4 separate regions of the Homo sapiens genome follow, and all the other regions are linked to region 1. The links are contacts of gene promoters, found by promoter capture Hi-C in human tissues and cell types (Jung and others, 2019). All regions are on one chromosome and are shown on one strand. Each heading gives the region's core, a stretch centred on a gene start or on the middle of the fragment in contact. The rest is flanking DNA. Distances are from core to core; before and after follow the strand shown.

Region 1 (3,089 bases), core at 590-3,089:
TCCTCCTGCTTCAGCCTCCCAACCTGCTGGAACCATAAGCATGTGCCACCACTCTTGGCTTCCCTATTAACTTTTAGGCTTGCATGCTTTGATGAAGCAGGCTGCTACACTGGAGAAGCCTACGTGACAAGCCTTTAGCCAAAATCCAGCTAGGAACTGAGACCCTTAGTCCAACAACCATTAAGGAACTGAATTTAGCCACTAGACATGGGAAGCAGATCCTTTTTGAGTTGAGCCTTTAAATGAGACTCCAGCCCTGGCCGATATCTTGATTGCAGTCTTGTGGGTGACCCTGATGCAGAGGAGCCAGCTATGCCATCCTCAGATTCCTGGCCCACAGAAAATGTGAGATAATAAATATGTTTGTTGGCCAGGTGTGGTGGCTCACGCCTGTAACCCCAGCACTTTGGAAGGCTGAGGCAGGCGGATCACGACGTCAAGAGATCGAGACCATCCTGGCCAACATGGTGAAACTCCGTCTCTACTAAAAATACAAAAATTAGCTGGGCCTGGTGGCTCATGCCTGTAGTCCTGCCTACTTGGGAGGCTGAGGCAGGAGAATCGCTTGAACCCACTGTAACCTCCGGGAGGCAGAGGTTACAGTGAGCCAAGATCACACCACTGCACTCCAGCCTGGTGACAGAGTGAGACTCTGTCTCAAAATAAATAAATAAATAAATGTGTTTGTTATAAGTGGCAAGCAGTGTGTTGTTATAAGTTTGTGGTAATATGTTATGCAGCAATACAAAACTAATATAATATCCAGCCCCTCTCATCTCATTTCTGGTTTACAGCCCATCTCTCCTATTTCCTTAGCACCCTGCATTCATCACACTGACTCATTGCTATTGGTTTTCTTGCACTTCCTATCCTGTAAGCCCCTTGAAGACAGGCACTGAACTAAGCATTCCTTGTAGCCCTAGTGCAGATAGCAGGGGTTGGCAGGAGTGTCCTGGGAAATATTTCACAATCCCAGGGTGGGGTTGTGTTCTCCATTCGGGGGCTTCTATAACACCCCAATAATGATGGTGGTTGGTTTTGAATTCTTACTGTGTACCAGGCACTGAGATGAAGCCAGGAATGTGTGTTCTTAACAAGTTTTCTGTGATGATTCTGATCCATAGTCAGGCTTAGGAACCACTAAACCTACATTACCTGAGACATTCTGTAGAAAAAATTGCATCCTTCTCTTAGGATAGCTATACTTGTAACTTCCTTAAACAAAACAGAACAAAACTGTATTGCATACATACAGAAAAATGCACAAATCTTAAGCGTACAATTTGATGAATTTTCCAAAGTGAACACATCTACATGGCTACCACCGAGATGAAGACAGGGGGTGACCCCAGCCTCACTTGTGGCCCCTCCCAGCCCACAGCCCCAGAGGAAACCACCAATTTTAACACCATCACTACTCATGAGTTCTGTCTGTTCTAGAATTTCCCGTAAATGAAATCGCAGTCTGTACTTGTACATCTGCTTAACATTATGTTCGTGCTTTTGACTTGTTAAAATTTCTCTTCTGGATTAAATATGTAAAACGGTGACTAAGGAGGTCGGGCAGAAGGTGGAAGCCTGGGATTCCGAGACGTCCTCTCAGGTGCCATACTTGGATTTCCCGAGAGGTGTAATCACACAGCCCGCCCTCAGCTGACCTATTCTCTGCTTAAGCAGGAAGGGAGATAGGAGGGGAAGGGGGCGTGGCTACAGACGCCGAGTGTGGGGCGGAGTCTTAAGAAGAGAGGCGCAACCCGGGTCCGGCTTCCCGGCGGTAGTTTGCTCGGCTCTGGGGGCGGGGCCAGGCCGAGACTTCCTGTCTGCTCCTGCGGAATCGCAGTTTGACCCCGGAAGTGCGGGCGCTCAGGGAGCTGTCACCGTGGTCGGCGGCGGCGGCGGCGGCGGCGGCACAGAGCCGGTGGTGGAGCCGCCGAGGTGAGTGCGTGGCTGGTCCCTGCCAGATGCAGGGCAAGGGACCCCGGAGGAGCCGCGGCTATGCCTTGGGCAGCCTTGGCTCTCCCATCCTCTGGCCTCCATTGCGGGGCCCACGCTTACGCTACCTGAGGGGTTGTGAGCCGCCTCTCGAGACTTGGCCGCCAGGGTCAGGAGCCACGGGTTCGAAGTTCGGCCCCAGAGTGGCGTTGGACCAGCCACGATCCCCCCACGTCCTCACACCCGGGGCTTCAGTTTCCTCAGGGTTCATTCATTCGTTCAGCAAATATTTGTGGAGTGCTTCCTATGTGCCAGACACAGATCTAGACATTGGGGATACAAAGAAAGCAAGACAGACAAGGCTTCTGCCCTCATGGAGCTTACAGTCTAGTGGGAGGAGATGGTCAACGACAAGCAAATGCACAAGGTCATTAAAGCTATGACAGTAACTGGGAGAGTGGATACTATAGGCAGAGCCATCAGAAGGTCTCTGAGGAGAGTAGTATTTAATTGAGAGACTAGAGGAATGATGACAAAGAGGCTGAGGGAGCAGTAGCCCCGGGGATGCTCCCAGGCCATATTGCAATTGGGTGCTTGTAGGGAGCTCCCCCTCCCTTTCTTAGCTTTTGGCTTTTGCTGTCCTGCCTGGCAGGGGAATACAGTGGTGGGCACAGACATAGTCATGATTATTGTTTGTCCTTTTGGAGCTCAAAGTTCAGATTGTCCAGTTAATTTATTTTTTCCCCCCAAGACGGGGTCTTGCTCTGTCGCCCAGGCTGGAGTGCAGTGGCGTGATCTCGTCCCACTGCAACCTCCGCCTCCCGGGTTCAAGCGATTCTCCTGCCTCAGCCTCCTGAGTAGCTAGGATTACAGGCATGCACCACCACGCCCTGCTAATTTTTTTTTTTTTTTTCGGTAGAGACGGGGTTTCACCTTGCTAGCCAGGATGGTCTCGATCTCCTGGCCTCGTGATCCGCCCGCCTTGGCCTCCCAAAGCGCTGGGATTACAGGCGTGAGCCATCGCGCCCAGCCCTGCCTACTTAATTTGTACCCGTGCTTTAGACAAAAACTCAGGTCTTCCTTGACATCACTTCTTCCTCAAGCCAGGTCTCTCTTTTAAATGCTGCCACAGCTTCATGAGCCTTATCTACATAGCT
Region 2 (3,089 bases), core at 271-2,770, 200 kb before region 1:
CTGACATAGGAGACTTTTTTGGCCTAAGCTTTTAACAAATATTTCCTGCCTTTCCTGTTCGCTAACCCATGCCCTCTGGCTCAGATCCTGAAACCCGCCCACTTGCCTTGGCTCACCTTGACGTCATCATATTGCCATGTGTTGATGTCACTGCTATCCCCCAAGGGGCAGGCTCCCTGCTCAGATGTACATGTACTCTCTTCTTCCTCTGAGCTATAACTCCAACTAGTCAGTATCCAAGTTCCTGTAGCCACTAGTTGTGGAGAAAGCTAAAGTCATCAGACATGAAGAGTATTCTCTACACAACTCAACCACTTAGAAAAATCACTCTCCACTTAAACATCTCTTCCTCCTTAACATACTCTCCATCCACCATAGCCCAACTTCCCTGTTACGGATTGTGAGATGTTGAAAATACAACAAAACAGGCACCAAAGTACAATTTAAGTTTTGTAAAATATGCAGAATTTCACATAGTTGGTGAATGTGTTGGCAAACTGCTCAGATGAGTGTAGCCATTGGAAATAAGGATCGCAGAGAGTAGGTCCATTAACAAATGAAGGGGAAGGTGACATGTCTAACCAATTAGGTGTTTCCTAGGGGGATGATGTGAATATCAAAGACTAAAGGATTTAAGAGGGAAATTGAGGAAGCCCTTGACTAACTTTTCCTAAAATGATCCTGTGATTGATTACACTAGAAAATCAAACATGAAATAATGTCCTATTGTGCAATCATATAATTTGGGGAGGGAAATACACCTAAAATATTATTTTTAAGAATTAGCCTGGTCGGGAGTGGTGGCTCACGCCTGTAATCCCAGCACTTTGGGAGGTCAAGGCAGGTGGATCACTTAAGGTCAGAAGTTTGAGACCAGCCAAGCCAACATGGCAAAACCCCACCTCTACTAAAACTACAAAAATTAGCTGGGTGTACTGGTGCATGCCTATAATCCCTGCTACTCAGGAAGCTGAGGCACGAGAATCTCTTGAACCCAGGAGGCGGAGGTTGTAGTGAGCCAAGATCGTGCCACTGCACTCCAGCCTGGGCAACAGAGCGAGACTGACCCTCTCTCAATAACGACAACAACAACAAAGAATTAGCCTATAGTTGCAATTACCTTTTGTTAAAACATACTTTTAAACAAAACAGTGGGAGATACTGGTTAAAGGATAAATTTCAGTTAAATAGGATTAGGTTAAAGAGCTCTATTGCACCACAAGGTGACTTAGTTAATAACAATGCATTGTATTCTTGAAAATCTCTAAGAGGGTAGATTTTAAGTGTCTCTCATCACAAAAAAATAAGTATGTGAGGTAACGCATATGTTAATTAGATCGATTTAAACCATTACACAATGTATACATATTTCAAAACATACTGTATATTATATATAATTTTGTCGATTCAAAAAAGATACTTATTTCAATAATAGTTTCATTTTACAAGATTAAATTCGGATCAAACCTTTTTCACTATGTGCTGTATGAAACACTGGTCTCCATTTTCAATGGGTTGCCTCTAAGAGGCTTTTTCAGGTCCTGTTCTTTTTGGATGAGGGTATGAATATATTTATCTGCCTGATCATCTTCCCTAACAGGCAGCATATTCTTGAGAGCAAACAGTGCCTGAGACAGAAGTCCCATGTCATCTCATGGAATGGTAGGGGTGGGGACATGTGTGAGTCACCAGTGAAGCCTGCACAGAGACTTAGCCTTCAATGACTTACTACATGAAGGCGCCACAGAGCATATCCAGAGCTGTCAGAAGCCAAGACTCTCTGTGCATGCATTGGTTAGGGTCCTCAGCAATGAGGGGTGACAGAGTACCGAGGCAGAACAGGGCAGAGGGTTCCTGAACAGACAGCCAGGCCCTTGTTCTCAGCTTGATCTGGGCTTTTCAGGCATCAGCAGGGCCCTCTGAGGGCATGAGGTGCCTTGGAGGGCAGCAGGGTGACCCGGAAGACATGTGACTGGCAAGGGTGTTCTGGTAGGCCCAGGTAAGGAGAGGCAGAGCCCCTCTGCCCTTGCCTAGGGCAGCACACAGAAACCATGCCCAGTGGCTTTGGGTGCTCTAGCTCATTCCTGTCCAACCAGGGTCAAAGCTTCCTACGACGGAGTGTCATAAATAGACTGACGATGGGGCTTCCCCCAGTCCCAGGAAGGGTTGGTGGGGTGTCGGAATTCAATTACAATATGAAAATAAGAGGTGAACTTCCTACTTGGGGTTGAAGGATAGGAGGGCAAACTTGGCATCGGCGTTCACCCCTGCACTAGGTGCTGACTGCATCCTGCAACAGAGGATAAAAGCGAAGAGCAGACGTCGTGGCCTCTCAGTTCAGGGGAAGCCCCGAGGCATCTCTGGCTGACAAGGCTGAGCTCAGTTTTCAGGCCCAGAACTAGTCCCCAGGTTAATGCCATCGAACTGCGTGGGGGTGCAGGTGAAGCATGGCCACATAGACACGTCCAGATGGGGACACCTGATGCTCTCGCAGTCTCCCCAGGTGCCTGAAGGAGGCCTCTAGAGACTTAGAACTGTGGTATATAACAGGCCTCCATTTTCAGCACTTTAATTTCTGCATGTCCAAGGAAGCATGCGTGGAAGGAGGGCAGAGAGCTGAGCCTCAGAGCAGTAATGCCAAGGAAGTAGGTGAGAGGGCTGCCTGCAAAGTCTCACAGGCCAACTACAGAGGCAGAAGAACTGGCAGGAGGGTTAGCAAGGTGGCAGGTTGCAGAATGGTTGCAAGAAAGAATGCTTTGGAGTGGGTCTAGAGTGTGTGGCTAGTCCTTGGGGACACCCAGTGTTGGGGTGGTGGGGGGCAGCAGAAGCAGGAGGAAGAGGAAGGGGTGGTGGAGCAAAGACGATATAGAGCTGGCCACTCTTTCTATTCGTTTCACAGTGAAGGGAAGGAGCAAGACAGGATACTTGCTGGAGGCAGAGACTTGAAAGAATTTGCTCTGACTTGAAAGAATTTGCTTTGCAGGCTGGAGGACTGGACAGCTTTAGGGATAGAGGAAGGAGCCAGCCAAACAAGGTTGAAAGAAAAAGGCTAAGGCCATGGTGGATGTGGGACAAAGCCCTAGACCATC
Region 3 (3,033 bases), core at 534-3,033, 200 kb after region 1:
AACCCCTTATCTCTTCTCTTCATGATCAATGCTGAAGAGTAAAAACGGTCTCTGTAGTTACAACAGAGGCTGTGTGACAGAGCGCTATGAACTCAAGAAGTGTCAAGAGCAGCTCTGGGGATGACTACAGCCTCAGCCCCTTTGAATATGCATGGCCCCAGAGGAAATGGATCTACTTTTAAGTATTAACACAAGACAAAAGTCACCAAGGCCACTGAGTTATGATTGCAGAAAAAACCATCACTCTCAACGTGCTGCTCTAAGGGAAAAGGAAGCAATAAAATTTGATCGATTCAACTTTTAAGTACACGTGAGGTCCAGGAAATATAATTCTTAAGCCATAATGTTGAATTAACATATTTCATTGCACTTAATTTTCTTAGAATGGTGCAACTTGGGATGTTCCAGACACAGAAGCAAGACAACTGCATGACGTGGCAGGGGGACACTGAAATAAACACAGCAGGAAAGCCAGCTCTCCTCTCACAGATGTCAACAGTCACCGGATTCATAAAAGCAGTAAATTTTGCCTTGCTCAGTCATAAAAATGCCTTAACATTTCAGTATGGGGAAAATCAAGTCAGTCACACAAGAGACAGGCAGTGCTTCCAAGTACTTACAAGAAAGCCATTTCTATAACATTAGGACATTCTGGGACCTAGGAGATTGTTAGGTGTTTACGTTCAAACACAAAAATTCTTCTTAGGTTTTAAAAGTGATTTTACATTCTTAGAGAGAAAATGAAACCTGAGATGTTTCTCAAGCAGTGCAACTTTCTAATCCCTTGGTTTCATTTCCAAAGAGAGGGGGGAAAAAGCAACGCTATAGAAAAACTGCAAGAACATCCCTTTTCTTTTGAGAAGGAGTTTCACTCTGGTTGCCCAGGCTGGAGTGCAATGGCGCAATCTCGGCTCACTGCAACCTCCACCTCCCGGGTTCAAGTGATTCCCCTGCCTCAGTCTCCCAAGTAGCTGGGATTACAGGCATGTGCCACCATGCCCGGCTAATTTTGTATTTTTAGTAGGGACGGGGTTTCTCCATGTTGGTCAGGGTGGTCTCAAACTCCTGACCTCAGGTGATCCACCCGCCTCGGCCTCCCAAATTGCTGGGATTACAGGCATGAGCCACCACGCCCAGCCTAAGAGTGTCCCTTTGATCTGCAAACATCAGAAATAAATTTGTCACCTCTTTTGCGCGTGCACACACACACACACACACACACGCCCCCCAGACCTTTTTTAAAAAGAATTTAGGGGGTTTTATTATATTTAACTTAATATTTGCTGACCACAATATACTGAGGCTGAAATTAATTACAGGAGGGCTATGTGACAGACTACCCAACTATCTCTGGGAAATCATGTAATTAATGCCCCTACTGCCATCTTTTACATTACTGAAACCTTTGAGCACACAAATAGCCCCAGTGCCAATCACTGCAACTGGCCATGAAACTGGGGAGCCACTCTGACCTGCAGTAAGAACATAAGTGAAACTGATAAGGTTTTCATCCTCAGACCAGTTCCCCTCCCTGTGCCTCTGGATGGTCAACCTGTAATTGTGAATTTCTTAATTTCTTCAATTCGGTGGGACAATTACTTATGGAATGCCTACTGTGTACTTAATGAGGCTTGCCTTTAAGGGGCTTACAATCTAATGAGGAATTAAGGAAGAAATAGGACAATTAGAGACACAGCATAGCATGAAGCACGATGTCTGAAGTACCACATATGGGGGACAAACCAAGTGTCACTAGAGCTCTGAAGTCCTCTTTTTTTTTTTTTTTTTTTTTTTTTAAGACAGAGTCTCACTCTGTCACCCAGGCTAGAGTGAAGTGACTCAATTTTGGCTCACTGCAACCTCCGCCTCCTGGGTTCAAGTGATTCTCCTGCCTCAGCCTCCTGAGTAGCTGGGATTACAGGCATGCATCACCATGCCTGGCTAATTTTTGTATTTTTAGTAGACATGGAGTTTCACCATGTTGGTCAGGCTGGTCTTGAACTCCTGACCTCGTGATCTGCCCGCCTCAGCCTCCCAAAGTGCTGGGATTACAGGGGTGAGCCAACCCGCCCGGCTGAAGTCCTTTTTTTTTTTTTTTTTTTTTTTTTTGAGACGGAACCTCACTCTGTTGCCCAAGCTGGAGTGCAGTGGCGCGATCTTGGCTCACTGCAACCTCCATCTTCCAGGTTCAAGTGATTCTCCTGCCTCAGCCTCCCGAGTAGCTGGGACTACAGGCACCTGCCACCACACCCGGCTAATTTTTGTATATTTAGTAGAGACGGGGTTTCACCATGTTAGCCAGATGGTCTCGATCTCCTGACCTTGTGATCTGCCCGCCTCGGCCTCCTAAAGTGCTGGGATTACAGGCCTGAGCCACCATGCCCGGCCAGTCCTCTCTTAATGAGAGCAGATTTTAAACTTTTGGAAGAACTACTGCTTTATAAGACTCTCTCTTTAGCCTTCCTTTGAAACTATTGAGTACTTTTAAGTTAGCTAGAAGAAAATAGGACCCATTTTCAAGGAGGTTTTAAGTTAGGTAGCTACTTGTATCCATTCTTCACCATCACACCTTCACAATTTCATCTGACACCAATTTTCATCACTCAAGTATAGTTCTGTTCTGAAGCCTTTTTTCCATTACAGAACCAAAGGGGCTGACCTTCCAGAGGTAGAATATTTTTGCAATACAAAGGTGTTTGTGGTCAACTCTGAGGCCAACTCTGCAACCACTCCTGGGCAAGTTCTCTCAGAACTGGGGGGTAGCCTTGACTGATGTACCTGTAAGAAGAATAAATGTTGTGTGATCTCCTGAACCAGCTCCTCTTCAGCATTCTCAGGATAAAATTTGGCCAAGAAGTGAAAGGTGACTGGTTCTTCCTTTGAAACATCATGATCCAGTACCTGCAGAATTGCAGAGCAAAAGACAAACACACTATATTGGCACTTCCTCCTGTGCTACCCTCAAAGAAGCCTTTGCAAGGCGTGCATTAAATTTTTTTCCCACTAAATTTATCACATTTCCTGAAAGTTGTG
Region 4 (3,053 bases), core at 1-2,500, 160 kb after region 1:
CTCTGCCGGCAAGAGGGTATCATGCATCAGGGCTTGGGCAGACAGTGAGACACGGCTCAGGTGCTCTGCGGCCCACAAGCTGCTTGGTGTGCGATCTAGGGTTTGAGGCCTGGGGTTCACGTCTCTACTTGGCCACTCACAGGCCATGGGAGCTTGGGCTGGTCACTTAAATGCTATGAATGTTTCCTCATCATTAAAATTGGGATAATGATCACAGGGCCGTGGTTAGGATTAAATAAAACAGTGTAGGAGGCCAGGCACGGTGGCTCCACCTGTAATCCCAGTACTTTGGGTGGCTGAGGCAGGAGGATTGCTTGAGCCCAGGAGTTGGAGACCAGCTTGGGAAACATAGCAAGACCCTGTCTCTATTTTTAAAAAAAAAAAAAGAAAAGGAAAGAAAAAGAAAGAGTAGAAAAGCCCTTGGTAAATTCTCATAGGGGGCTCTACAAATACCAGCTCTCATGGACAGCTTTTCGTTCTGTACAAAAAAAAAACATACGTGAAACAAGCTTCCTGGGAACCCAGAACAATCTCCTTGTCTCAACCCTTCTTGGAGCAGTAATTCAAGTAAACTCTTTTTTTTTTTTATAGGATCTTGCTATGCTGCCCAGGCTGGCTTTGAACCCCTGGTCTCAAAGGGCTGGGATTATAGGCATAAGCCACAGCGCCCAGCTTCACGTGATCTCTTTTGATAGGCCACATCCACATTCCCACTTGTTCTGAGACTTCATCTAAAGATGACAGAAGCTCACTCAGAAGCTCACCCAACGCAAGGAAGAAAAGATCCCCACCCTCACCTGAGAACAGATAACACTGAGTGACAGCATCTATGATGGTGAAAATCTGGAAACCACCCACAAAGTGTCCAACTACAAGGCATGGCCAGAAAAACCATGCAATACAAATACCAAAAACACTCCATAGGGATTGCCATGGTTAGTATAGAGACTCTGCCAATATGTGCAAGGGTAAGAAGTGCTATGGTCTGAATGTTCGTGTCTTCAAAATTCATATGTGGAAACCTAATCACCGGCTGGGTGTGGTGGCTCACGCCTGTAATCCCAACACTTTGGGAGGCCAAGGTGGGCGGATCATGAGGTCAGGAGTTCGAGACCAGCCTGACCAACATGGTGAAACCCCATCTCTACTAAAAATACAAAAGTTAGCTGGGCGTGATAGCATGCGCCTGTAATCCCAGCTACTCAGGAGGCTGAGGCAGGAGAATCGCTTGCACCCAGGAGGTGGAGGTTACAGTGAGCCGAGATCGCACCACTGCACTCCAGCCTGGGCGATGGAGTGAGACTCCATCTCAAAAAAAAAAAAAGTGTCAGGAGGTGGGGCCTTTGGGCAGTCATGAGGGTAGAGCCTCATGAATGGGATTAGTGCCCTTATAAAAGAGACTCCAGAGAGACCCCTCATCCCTTCCACTGGGTGAGCATGCAGCAAAAAGGGGCTGATTATGAACCAGCAAGAATGCCCTCACTAGACTCCACCTCTGCCCGTGCCTTGATCTTGGCCTTCTCAGCCTCCCAAACTGTGAGAAATCAATTTCTTTCTTTTCTTTTTTTTTTTTTTGAGACAGGGTGTCTCTCTGTTGCCCAGGCTGGAGTGCAGTGGTGCAATCTGGGCTCACTGCAACCTCTGCCTCCCAGGCTCAAGCAATCCTCCCACCTCAGCCTCCCGAGTAGCTGGGACCACAGGCATGTGCCACCACACCCAGCTAATTTTTGTATTCTTAGTAGAAATGGGGTTTTGCCATGTTGCCCAGGCTGGTCTTGAACTCCTGGCTCAAGAGATCTGCCCCCCTTGGACTCCCAAAGTGCTGGAATTACAGGCATGAGCCACTGTGCCTGGCCAAGAAATAAATTTCTGTTGTTTATAAGCTACCCAGCCTCTGGTATTTTGTTACAGTAGCCAAAACAAACTAAGATAGTAACAAAATACAAACTATAAAATAGCAGACACAGAACAGCTTCACCCTGATCCCGGATCCCAACCACATAAATGTATATGTCTGGATAATGGTGAAAGGAACATGGACAGCAGATATGACAGCTAGAGGCTCTGGTTCATTGGCTACTTAGCTATACCCTCAGTGTGAGAGCCCAAAGAAAAACAGCCTGGGTTCTGGTTGCCCATACTGGACTCCATGGAGACACTTTCCCCAAAGGGTTTTCCTGAGGATACCACCCATGGTAAAAGCACATGGGCTGCAGAGTCAGATGGGTGAGGGGTTTCAACCCCTCTGCATCAGCTGTGGGATGCTGGTGGAGTTCACTAAACTCTCTAAATCTGAGTTCTCACTTATAAAATGGGAACATGAAAACCTACCTTTGATGTCATTTTGATGTTTGTAAGTTAGCAGGAATTAAATGAGACAAAAGCCAAAACCCCTGACACACAGGCACTCAATGCATGGTAGCTACTGTGGTTGTCCTCTAGCAAGCAGCAGCAGTTAACCAACTTACCGCTAGCTCTGGGAACTAGGGGCCCTCGCTTAGATTTCCTCTGCAGTGGGGATCCTTTCCTTTCCATCTCTGATCCACTTCTACCCACAATAAAGGGAAGACGGAGGGCAGCTCAGCAATTGCTGCCATGATCAGGCCATGCTGGGGCCCTGCCCAGTGCCACCCACTGCAGCAAAGTGGCCCCACCAGCTGTCAGCTTTCCTTAGCCTCGAGCCTGAGTCTCTTCTCTCACCTTTGTTTGTTCTAGACATGGGAACCACCACAGATCCCAGTTGCTGGAGAACACAACTAGGAGGTGACTACAGTCCAGTAGTATAACAGCAGTTGAACTGACTCAGAGATGCTAACAACCCAGTCCTACACTTTAGGTGAGGCTTAGAGCCACCAAAAACTCCAGCTCACCAGTCAAGTGTTATTTTTATCCTGGATAAAAATTGTTATTTTTATTCGTTCAGAATGAATGCTGATCTGTTGTCCTTAATTTCTGATTAAGGAAATTCTTCCTCCAGGGTGTAAGAGCAGAGCAAACCTTTGCAGGAGTAATGACAGGCTGCTGCAGCGACCTCTCACCTCTGCCCCAGCTTC

Evidence for each region. The method cuts DNA at HindIII sites, captures the fragments that hold promoters and counts their contacts. A contact is called where the count stands out against the background at its distance.
Region 2: a contact is called between a fragment that was not itself captured here and the fragment with the promoter of ASCC2 in region 1, in 7 of the 25 tissues and cell types used here (H1 embryonic stem cells, IMR-90 fibroblasts, dorsolateral prefrontal cortex and 4 more).
Region 3: a contact is called between a fragment that was not itself captured here and the fragment with the promoter of ASCC2 in region 1, in 2 of the 25 tissues and cell types used here (dorsolateral prefrontal cortex and neural progenitor cells).
Region 4: a contact is called between a fragment that was not itself captured here and the fragment with the promoter of ASCC2 in region 1, in 3 of the 25 tissues and cell types used here (liver, mesendoderm cells and thymus).

What each region holds. Positions count from the first base shown.
Region 1 is chr22:29,837,024-29,840,112 of GRCh38, reverse strand. ASCC2 (activating signal cointegrator 1 complex subunit 2) reads left to right here and starts at 1,839. Exons shown (of 20, transcript NM_032204.5): 1 at 1,839-1,935. RefSeq lists an enhancer at 1,507-1,566. The HindIII fragment of the contact is 14,310 bases long and covers 1-3,089 here.
Region 2 is chr22:30,035,441-30,038,529 of GRCh38, reverse strand. The region is part of intron 3 of HORMAD2-AS1 (HORMAD2 and MTMR3 antisense RNA 1); the gene reads left to right. Among named protein-coding and RNA genes, the nearest start is that of MIR6818, 30 kb to the right of the region's middle. The HindIII fragment of the contact is 4,617 bases long and covers 1-3,089 here.
Region 3 is chr22:29,638,958-29,641,990 of GRCh38, reverse strand. It overlaps NF2 (NF2, moesin-ezrin-radixin like (MERLIN) tumor suppressor), which reads right to left. Exons shown (of 16, transcript NM_000268.4): 3 at 2,779-2,901. Among named protein-coding and RNA genes, the nearest start is that of NF2, 37 kb to the right of the region's middle. The HindIII fragment of the contact is 5,010 bases long and covers 1-3,033 here.
Region 4 is chr22:29,678,388-29,681,440 of GRCh38, reverse strand. It overlaps NF2 (NF2, moesin-ezrin-radixin like (MERLIN) tumor suppressor), which reads right to left. Exons shown (of 16, transcript NM_000268.4): 15 at 1-2. Among named protein-coding and RNA genes, the nearest start is that of CABP7-DT, 40 kb to the left of the region's middle. The HindIII fragment of the contact is 5,631 bases long and covers 1-3,053 here.